Linked DNA regions of Homo sapiens: region 1 is linked to region 2. The links are contacts of gene promoters, found by promoter capture Hi-C in blood cells and fetal thymus (Javierre and others, 2016). All regions are on one chromosome and are shown on one strand. The core of a region is centred on a gene start or on the middle of the fragment in contact, and the rest is flanking DNA. Distances in the headings are between cores, read along the strand shown. Region 1 overlaps GPR84-AS1 (GPR84, ZNF385A, ITGA5 and GTSF1 antisense RNA 1). Region 2 holds the start of NCKAP1L (NCK associated protein 1 like).

What was found. The method cuts DNA at HindIII sites, captures the fragments that hold promoters and counts their contacts. A CHiCAGO score of 5 or more calls a contact.
Region 1: a fragment that was not itself captured here is called in contact with the fragment with the promoter of NCKAP1L in region 2 in 1 of 17 cell types (M2 macrophages); the score reaches 6.3 in M2 macrophages.

What each region holds. Positions count from the first base shown.
Region 1 is chr12:54,430,380-54,435,307 of GRCh38, forward strand. The region is part of intron 3 of GPR84-AS1 (GPR84, ZNF385A, ITGA5 and GTSF1 antisense RNA 1); the gene reads left to right. Among named protein-coding and RNA genes, the nearest start is that of ITGA5, 14 kb to the left of the region's middle. The HindIII fragment of the contact is 164 bases long and covers 3,318-3,481 here.
Region 2 is chr12:54,495,811-54,500,968 of GRCh38, forward strand. NCKAP1L (NCK associated protein 1 like) reads left to right here and starts at 1,942. Exons shown (of 31, transcript NM_005337.5): 1 at 1,942-2,081; 2 at 3,545-3,655; 3 at 4,723-4,815. The coding sequence starts at 1,980. RefSeq lists enhancers at 1,904-1,963, 2,074-2,133. The HindIII fragment of the contact is 9,210 bases long and covers 1-5,158 here.

The sequences.
Region 1 (4,928 bases), core at 2,150-4,649, 64 kb before region 2:
AAGTGACATACAGGTTAGCATAGAAGCCATCTAAGTGTGACTGGAGGTGGAGGAAGGGAGGAATGCAAGAAGGGGCAGAAATAAGAATTAGAGAAGACCCAGGAAAATATGGAAGAAGCCAGTAAGCCTGTATGTAGAAGGACTTCCTTGAGCGTTTCTCCAGCTTTTGCTCATGTTTTAGGCAGTTAAAAATAGTGATTTATTCTACTCACTGAGAGAGAGAAAGGAAGAAGGGGATGAGAATTCTTTTACCCTTGAAAGCACACAGGGACTCCCTGGGCTGGATCCAGGTACTTGACTTGGAAGTTCCAACTAGAGCAAGTCTGCCCTTCTTTGGCTCCCAATTTTGTCTTTCCTAAATCAAAGGAATTGGGCTAGGTGATCCTTGAGGTTCCATCTTACCCCAACACATTCAGATTCTCATACAGGAACTCAGGGGAAAACCAGGGTTGCGGCTGGAGTCCTTGTGTGGGGGCCAGGAATAAACAAATAATTGGTAACCAGGATGAGCTCAGTGATCTAGGGGAAAGGCTCTGTAGGGGGTGATGGGAAGGAAGCCAGGAAAGGAGAGACCAGACCCCAGAAAACTGAATGGAGCATGGACTCATTCATTCATGCAACCATGTACCTTCAGAAACTAAAACCTAGGGGCCGGGCGCGGTGGTTCACACCTGTAATCCCAGCACTTTGGGAGGCTGAGGCGGGTGGATCACGAGGTCAGGAGTACAAGACCAGCCTGGCCAACATGGTGAAACCCCGTCTCTACTAAAAATACAAAAATCAGCTGGGTGTGGTGGCGCGCGCCTGTAATCCCAGCTACTCGGGAGCCTGAGGCAGAGAATCACTTGAACCCAGGAGGCACAGGTTGCAGTGAGCCGAGATTGCACCACTGCATTCCAGCCTGGGTGACAGAGCGAGACTCCGTCTCAAAAAAAAAAAAGAAGAAGAAGAAAAAAAAAGAAACTAAAACCTAGGAATCTGAGCTTCCCATTCAACAAGGTTATAATGAGCCCATGGGCTCTGGATGTCTAGGAAGGGCAAACTCCCAGGTCCCTCCCCAATTTTTGAGGTATTACAGGAAAAAACAGCTAATAGTTATCAAGTACCAGGTATAGATCTAAGCATTTTACATATGCGACCTCATTTAACCTCAAAATAATACTATGAAGCAGCATTTTATATCTTTCAAATTGATTTCTTCATTTAATCCTCCTCAACTGCCCTCTAAAGTTAACAAGGGCATTTGACTGATGAGGAATCTTTGAAAGTGGGAAAAGATGAAACTAGATTTCTAGTAGAATTTTCTAAGTGGTAATGGTGGGAGCCCCTGCAAGGAGTTAGAGGATTCTCACTTCCTAGCAAGATCTTTTCTGACTCTAGGCTTCCAGATTGTGGGGGGTGGAGTGTGCTTTCCAGATCTTGATGAATGGCAGATAAAGATATGCATCAAGTTACTGATCAGGAGCAAGAAAATGGCACTCTGGTGTCTTTGAGAATGTTTCTAAGAAGTCTCTAGAGATAGAAACAATCACAGGATTGAGGATTACCTTAAATCTGCAAAGAGACCTTGACAGGCCAGAGGCAGAATTCTGAGTGAGTTAGCTCCCCTTTGTTTCTACCAACTGCTGGTCAGCAGCAGGAGAGAAGGAAATTAGATATATGGAGGGATTTATCTATTGTTTGGGGCTGATAGGAGAATCCTGCCTCCTGTGGGTAATAGTGAAGTTAATTCTTCTATCACTGTAATCAGCAGGAGTTAGAGGTGTGAGTGGTAGTGTTAGTGGAGAGGGGGGATGGTAGTGAGGATGGGCTTGCCTGGAAGACCTCTGACCAGCTAGAAGAGCCTGAGATTTTGAGGGGGAGGAGATAATTTGCCAGACGGGTACTTGCGGAGAGGGTCCAAGTGTTTGGGCTCCAGCCTGGGGTGAAGTCAGAGACATAAATCACACCTTCCAACTGCCTGTTTCCGCTTTGAGCTCAGTTCCCAGCCAAAAGCCCAGCTAGCCTGCCAGAGGAGTAAGCGTGTGGATGGGGGAGGGGCCAAAGAGCTGGAAGCTGGTGATTGGGAATGGGCGTCATCAGCTGGGAATCTGGTCTCATCAGGGTCATGAAATGGACTCAATGCCAGGGCTGGTAGAGCAGGGAGCCCAAGGATCTCAACAGAACTGCTCTGTAGATACCTCATCCCACGTGAGACACACCCACAACCACACCCTGTTTGCTGAATTCTCCTCTCCCACACATAAAAACCACTGGGACGTGCCTGGAGGCACAGACACCTACATAGACACACCCCCCACCCCCATCCAGCTGTTGCTCACTTGTGCCAGAAAACTCTACGTCTCCTGGATGAGTAGACCTAGGAGAAATGAGTGCGGGTTGAGAGATAAGGAGGATCCTGGATCTTCATTAAGATCTGGAAACACTTTTCTCTAGTAATCTTAAAGCCCTGTTCTGTGTCATCTTTTTGCCTTTCCCCACTGGGGATGGGTCTGGGTGATTTCCCTTCTCACTTTAGGAGAACCTCAGTGGTCTGTTGTCCTCTTGGTGGGCAGTGCCTGCTAATCACAGTGATGGCAGAGCAGGAGGCAAGAGATTGAGTGTGCATGTTGGGCGGGGTAGGTGTTTGAGGGCAGGAAATCCAGAAAGCCACTCAGACAATGGCCTTTTCCGCACGCTTGGGTCCAGGCTGCAGGCTGCTGGATCCTGTCTGACCCTAACAGCAGCTCCTATTTTTCCCTCTGGTTAGCTTCCCACTCAATGCTCATTTCGGGGCATATAGGAGAGGCAGGATTCCTTTGGAGGAAAGGTATCCTGTTCATCAGCCCTTTTCCAGGTGACTGTTCGGGTTGACCACAAGGATTTGGGGGCTTAAGTAACCTTATCAAGCCTGGGACCACCCCACCCATGCCTAGTGTCCTCTTAAATGTAGCATTTGTTATGGCCTCCTACATGGTACAGCTGTAAGCACTTTGACATCTTAAGGGAATCATGATGCTCTTATTTTGGGCTAAGTTTGCCCCATTTTGTTCTCTGAATTGTCTGTTTGTATCCTATTAGACTGGAAACTTGAATGAAGCAAAGATTGTGTCTGTCAATTGGTACAGCCCCGGACTAGCATTAGGAAAATAATATGTCTTTTGATATTCAAGGTGACAAAATGATTACAATGAAGATAGAAGATCTTGGGAATGCTGGAATATATTTTTTCCTAGAAAAGTGGGGGTAGGTCACAGCTACCATGGCCACTTAAATGGGGGTAAAATGACCCTGAGGTCTCCAATCTCTCCCTTCTCCTGTACCTGGGAGAACCAGAAAGCTTCTTTCTAATACACCTTCTGCTTTAGTCATTTGGGTCTCAGTGTCTCAGTATTGTCTCACTAATGTGCCCATTTTGTCTTCAGCTTTGCTCCTGTGATTCCAGTGTCTGGAATGCACTGTCCTCTGTACTGGTCATCAAGGCCCATCCAAGCCCTGCATAAGCTTCCCCATCTCATTCTTTATTTTATTTTATTTTATTTATTCATTTTTTTTTTGAGACAGAGTCTCGCTCTGCTGCCCAGGCCCGAGTGCAGTGGCGCCATCTCGGCTCACTGCAAGCTCCGCTTCCCGGGTTCACGCCATTCTCCTGCCTCAGCCTCCCGAGTAGCTGGGATTACAGGCGCCCACCACCACGCCCGGCTAATTTTTTTGTATTTTTAATAGAGACGGGGTTTCACCGTGTTAGCCAGGCTGGTCTCGATCTCCTGACCTCATGATCCGCCTGCCTCGGCCTCCCAAAGTACTGGGATCACAGGTGTGAGCTACTGCGCCTGGCCTCTTTATTTTATTTTAAAATATTTATTTATTCATTTATTTATTTATTTGAGATGAAGTCTTGCTCTGTTACCCAGGCTGGAGTGCAGTGGCGTGATCTCGGCTCACTGCAACCTCTGCCTCCTAGGTTAAAGTGAATCTCTTGCCTCAGCCCCCTGAATAGCTGGGATTACAGGTGCCAACCACCATGCCTGGCTAATTTTTATATTTTTAGTAGAGACGGGGTTTTACCATGTTGGCCAGGCTGGTCTTGAACTCCTGACCTCAAGTGATCTGCCTGCCTCGGCTGCCGAAAGTGCTGGGATTACAGGTGTGAGCCACTGAGCCTGGACTTCCCCAGCTCATTCTAAATCTCAGCAATGTGCCACTATTCTGAAGTCCTAGGCTTATAGTCTGGAGTACATGGTCTAGCACTTAATTATCCAGTGTATTAATAAAGTCCTTGTATAATTTAGAAATTGAATACATTTGAATGCACCTATGATAGAAGCAACTCTAAATATTTTATGAAAGCATGTTCCATAGAATTTTTTTTTTTTTTTTTTAGACTGAGTCTCGCTCTGTTGTCCAGGCTGGAGTGCAATGACACGATCTTGGCTCACTGCAATGTCCGCCACCTGGGTTCAATGATTCTCCTGCCTCAGCCTCTTGAGTAGCTGGGATTATAGGCACGCGCCACCACCCCCAGCTAATTTTTGTATTTTTAGTAGAGACGGGGTTTCACCATGTTGGTCAGGCTGGTCTCGAACTCCTGACCTTGTGATCTGCCTGGCTCAGCCTCGCAAAGTGCTGGGATTACAGGCGTGAGCCACTGCGCCTGGCCAGAATTTTTAATGATAATGTTTGCTTTTTGTTAATGTGCTTTTATTTTATACAGGGAAGTCATCTGAAAAGACTTGAGTTTGAAAGTTGCCTCCCTTACTTAACAGATATGTAACCTTGGCAAGTTACTTAACCTCCTTGGGTCTCAATATCTTCACCTGTAAAATGGCAGTAATATCTTTCTCATAGATTTGTTGGGATAATTAAACTAATATACTATATGTATGGTTACAGTACTTGGTTATAAATATTAAAGCCTCATTCTGTCTGTTGATAAATCTGAAATCTAT
Region 2 (5,158 bases), core at 692-3,191:
GGCCCCAACTTCTTAAGTAATAATGCTGATCAGCCTTGTCTCTCTTCTCCCACTCCCTAGAATTTATTGGGACAATGGGAACTCTGGATACGGAAAATGGGAATGATTAAAAACCTGAGAAAAGGAATTGGCAAGGTGGTGGAAATGAAGAGAACTCTTTTTGATTTATAATTTTTCCTAGGACCTTTTGCTTTGTGTCTTGAAAGAAAGTTGAAATAGAGTTGAAAATTTTCTTGAGTTACGGAGTTAAGGCCTCATTGGAATGGCAAGAATATTTTAATGCTAAAATTCATTCAAGTCTCTAAGATTTAAGGGTGATTACTAATTTCCTCTTTTTAATCTTGATTAATTTGGTTCTTCTTCATGGGGCCTATTTCCTAATTTAGTCTTAATAATTCAACAAATAAACCAGCATATTTATTGAGTGACTACTGTGTCCAAGAGGTATTGTTCTAGATCAGTGTTTTTCAGAATGGAATATTTGTACCAAAACCTCCTACAACAGTGCTTATATAAGTACAGACTTCTAGGCCCCACAACAGACTCGCCTACCTACCAATGCTAATCTCAGAGGACAGGGATTGATCTGTTTCTCAAGCATCCATAAATACCATGGTACTAGAGCACTGGTTCTCAAACTTGAGTGTGCATTGGAATCACCTGGAGGGTTTGTTAAAACACAGAGTGCCTGGACCCACCCCAGAATTTTGGATTCAGTGGTCTGGGGCGGGTCCTAAGAATTTGCATCTCTAACAAGTTTCCAGGTGATGCTGATGCTGCTGGATCACATTTTGAGAATTACTATGTACTTCTTGAGAACTACTTTGAGAATTATTATGTACTGTAGAAGTACAATGCACTGTAGTAGAGCATTGTGAGAAATATAAAAAAGTATTAGAGGCCGGGTGTGGTGGCTCATGCCTGTAATTCCAGTACTTTGGGAGGCTGTGGCGGGTAAATCACCTGAGGTCAGGAGTTCGAGAGCAGCCTGGCCAACACGGTGAAACCCCATGTCTACTAAAAATACAAAAATTAGCAAGGCGTGGTGGTGGGCACCTGTAACCACAGCTACTCCAGAGGCTGAGGCTGGAGAATTGCTTGAGCCCAGGAGGTGGAGGTTGTAGTGAGCAGAGATCATGCCATTGCACTCCAGCCTGGGCAACAAGAGTGGAACTCTGTTTCAAAAAAAAAAAAAAAAAGAAAAAAAAGTATTAGGTACAATTCCTGTCATTAAGGAGCTTATGCTGTAGTTGGGGGAGATACAACGTACACTATAAACATATAACAAGGAATATATGTATTTGACAATATAAAATATAATACAATATAATATTTGACATTGATGGGGTCTTTAGGAGAAGATGGGATTTGATCTGGGTACTAAAACATGATGAGGCCAAAGGTTCATAGGCATTCTTGGATATAAAAGAAGGAAAATATAGAGGTGTACAGGGGTGGGGTGGTAGATACTTGTTTATCTAGCTTACAGCTTTTAATTTTTATTTTTTATAGAGATGGGGTCTTGCTATGTTGCCCAGGCTGGTCTGGAACTCCTGAGCTCAATGGATCTTCCCACCTTTTCCTCCCAAAGTGCTGGGATTACAGGTGTGAGCCACCACGCCCAGCTTTGTCTAGGACACTTATGGGGGCATAAGACCAAAAAGGTTGGTGCAGTCTGTGAAGAGCCTTGAAAGCCTGTCCTTCTCCTCAGCTCCACCCACTTCATAGCCTTACCAAAAGTGCTGCACAGCCAGAAAGAGGAAGTCTCCCCTGCTGAGTGTGCAAGAGGAAGCACAAGAAGGCTCTGAGGGCCTGTGAGCCATAATGACTGATTTCACCCATGAGCCAATTGCAGAGGCAACAGAAGACCAGTGCACCAACCAGGCTGGGTCCCTCCGCCAGAGGGTGTCACCATCTAAGCTGAAAGTGTTTGGGGAGATCAGACATTGCTGTCTGGTGCTCCTCTCTCAGTGGCCATCATGTCTTTGACATCTGCTTACCAGCATAAATTAGCAGAGAAGCTCACTATCCTGAATGATCGCGGTCAGGGGGTTCTCATCCGTATGTATAACATCAAGAAGGTAAGCATGAACAATGGGACTAGTACTGATTATTCCAACAATAATAGGGCAGGGAACCCTGAGGCGGCAGGTGCAGCAGTTAGACTCCCACCTTTTTTTCCACTGCTTTTCCACTGACTATAATCTACATAATCACTCAGATTATACAGGCCAGCCAGTTCAGGAAGGCAGAAGTGGAGGCTTCTTTTCAAGGCTTCCCCTTTCTAGATATGATTCTTGCCCCAACGATGGCATCTGCTTTCCTCTGGGGATGGGGGTGAGGGTGGGGATGGGGAAACAACAGTGGTATTCCAAGTGACTTGGATAAAGGTCTGGGGTCCAACCTTCTGGGTTTTATTATTTATTGTTGATCCTCTACACTCTGAAGAGATCTGAAGCTGGGTCTCTGGCAAAAACTTTTCTGTGGAAGTGCTTCCCTAAAAGGAAAAAAAATAGATAATTAGGTATTTAGATTAAAAAGGGTAGGTGTCTTCTGAGCTGCTCCTGGGGTAGTTCATGCTGTGGTGGTTGTGTGTGTGTGTGTGTGTGTGTGTGTGTGTGTGTTTAGAATAGGAACTGAGGAATTGAAAGAAGCTAGTGACAAGAGGTGGGCTAGGGGCTGGGCAAACCATAGGAAGTAAAGAGATAAAGACAGGGGTGTTTATGGGGAGTTCCTGGCATAGAAAATAGGGGACTTTGGGGGAGGGAGCTTTTGTGTTTTTTGTAATAAAACAAATCACCAGGAACACGGTTTCTCTGTCACCATGAATCCTGTAAATGCCCTTTGGGATAAGATACTTACATAGTGAACAAAATTGTGACACTGAATCTTGTACAAAGTCTAACTCCTGAGCAGCTGCTTTTCTTGTTCCTTCCGGCTTCAGTTGAGGGGCGGGGAAACAGCTTCCTCTTTGTGCTGGGGCCAAGCAGGCATTAAACTCTACCCATCAAGACAAAATGCCTAGGTTGTTATTTCGCTCTTAGATACTTGGCTTAATGTCTTGGAATTTTTTCTTGACCTACTCTTATGCTTTTTATTTTTATATTTATTTATTTATTTATTTATTTATTTATTTTCGGAGTCTCGCTCTGTCGCCCAGGCTGGAGTGCAGTGGCACGATCTTGGCTCACTGCAACCTCCGCCTCCCGGGTTCAAGCGATTCTCCTGCCTCAGCCTCCCAAGTACCTGGGACTACAGTTGTGCACCACCATGCCCAGCTAATTTTTGTATTTTTAGTAGAGACGGGGTTTCACCATGTTGGCCAGGCTGGTCTCGAACTTCTGACCTTGTGATCTGCCTGCCTCGGCCTCCCGAAGTGCTGGGATTACAGGTGTGAGCCGCTGCGCCCAGCCTCTCATGCTTTTTAAATTAGTTCCCAGGTTGCCTTTTCCTAAGACAGATTATGAGAATGAATGTTGCAAGAAGAGGTATGTTTCTGAGGAGGAGGAGAAAGGGTTGAAATATATATGGTTTCTCTCTGCAGACTTGTTCAGACCCCAAATCTAAGCCACCTTTCTTACTGGAAAAGTCCATGGAACCATCTCTCAAGTATATCAACAAGAAATTTCCCAACATAGATGTCCGAAACAGCACGGTGAGAACTTGGTCCTTCTCTCCTTTCTCTGAATAATTCTCTGCTTGAATGGCTGAAATTCTCCTCTTTTGATGCCTCTCTTCAAACTTGGCAGGGGATGGAGTAGTCTTTTTTTATTAATAGTTTTCCAAGGCTCAACCACAGGGCTTCAGGTTGTTGTAGAGCTTTAAGTCTTGAGCATTTTGAGATAAGATGGGATTCTTCCAGCATAAGCTGGAGCGAATCATCACCCCTTTTCCATTGCAAGATTCATGGGAAAACATTGTTTTTGTACAAGACAGCTCTATCAACCCAGCAGGGTACATGTATTTTATTGTTTCTGTTTCCCACTCACTGTTTCCTTGCTGTTTGTCTTAGATTTCTGCATCTAATGGGATATCTCTACTTTTCCCTTATTAAATGTTAACCCTAGATTTTTCACCCATCTTTGTAGCATCTTTGAATTCTGTTTCTTTTGACTTTGATATAAATAGTATATCTGTTCATCTGAAAGGGTGCTTAAAATTTCCTCTCATTTAGCCCTCTGTATCTAGTCAGGATCACATGCAACCATTCTACCTAGATAGACAATCTCCTTTGTTTAAAGACCTTCAGAGCACTGAAGCGTTTCTAACTTCCTCTGTCAGTATATTTCAACTCTCTTTCTTTTTCTTTTCTTTTCTTTTTTTTTTTTTTTGAGATGGAGTCTTGCTCTGTCACCCAGGCTGGAGTGCAGTAGCACAATCTTGGCTCACTGCAACCTCTGCTTCCCAGGTTCAAGTGATTCTTCTGACTCAGCCTCTCGAGTAGCTGGCATTACAGGCGCCCGCCACCACGCCCAGCTAATTTTTGTATTTTTAATAGAGACGGGGTTTCACCAGGTTGGCCAGGCTGGTCTTGAACCCCTGACCTCAGGTGATCCGCCTGCCTCGGCCTCCCAAAGTGCTGGGATTACAGGTGTGAGCCACTGCGCCCGGCCTCAACCCTCTTTAAGAATGTTTTAGGTATAACCACTGTTCTTCTTGAGTTATTTGGATCAATTGTCTTATTTTGCACTTTTTTATTGTTTTGTTTTGTGTTTCTCTCAGCAACATTTAGGACCAGTACATCGTGAAAAAGCCGAGATAATTAGATTCCTCACCAACTACTACCAGTCATTTGTGGATGTCATGGAATTTCGGGTGAGCTCTCTTGAGCCGTTTCCAATGTAGGCAAGGTCTTTCAGAGGCTATTCTTTCTTTAGATGTTCATGTATTTGCTTAAAACAAGTTCTTGAAAAAATGAGAGAGATGTACTAATATGGAAGGATATCTAAGTTGTATTGTTAAATGAAAGCAAATTTCAAAATAGTATATGATACATCACATTTCTATTTTAAAAGAGTATGTATGTATATGTATTTAGTAAATATCTAGGAAAGATCTGGACTATTTTACATTAAACTGTTAAAAATAACTACCTTTGGGGACTGATTATGACTGGCTTCAATTTAGTAGGCTATGCATGTTTTTTCTATTTTAAAAA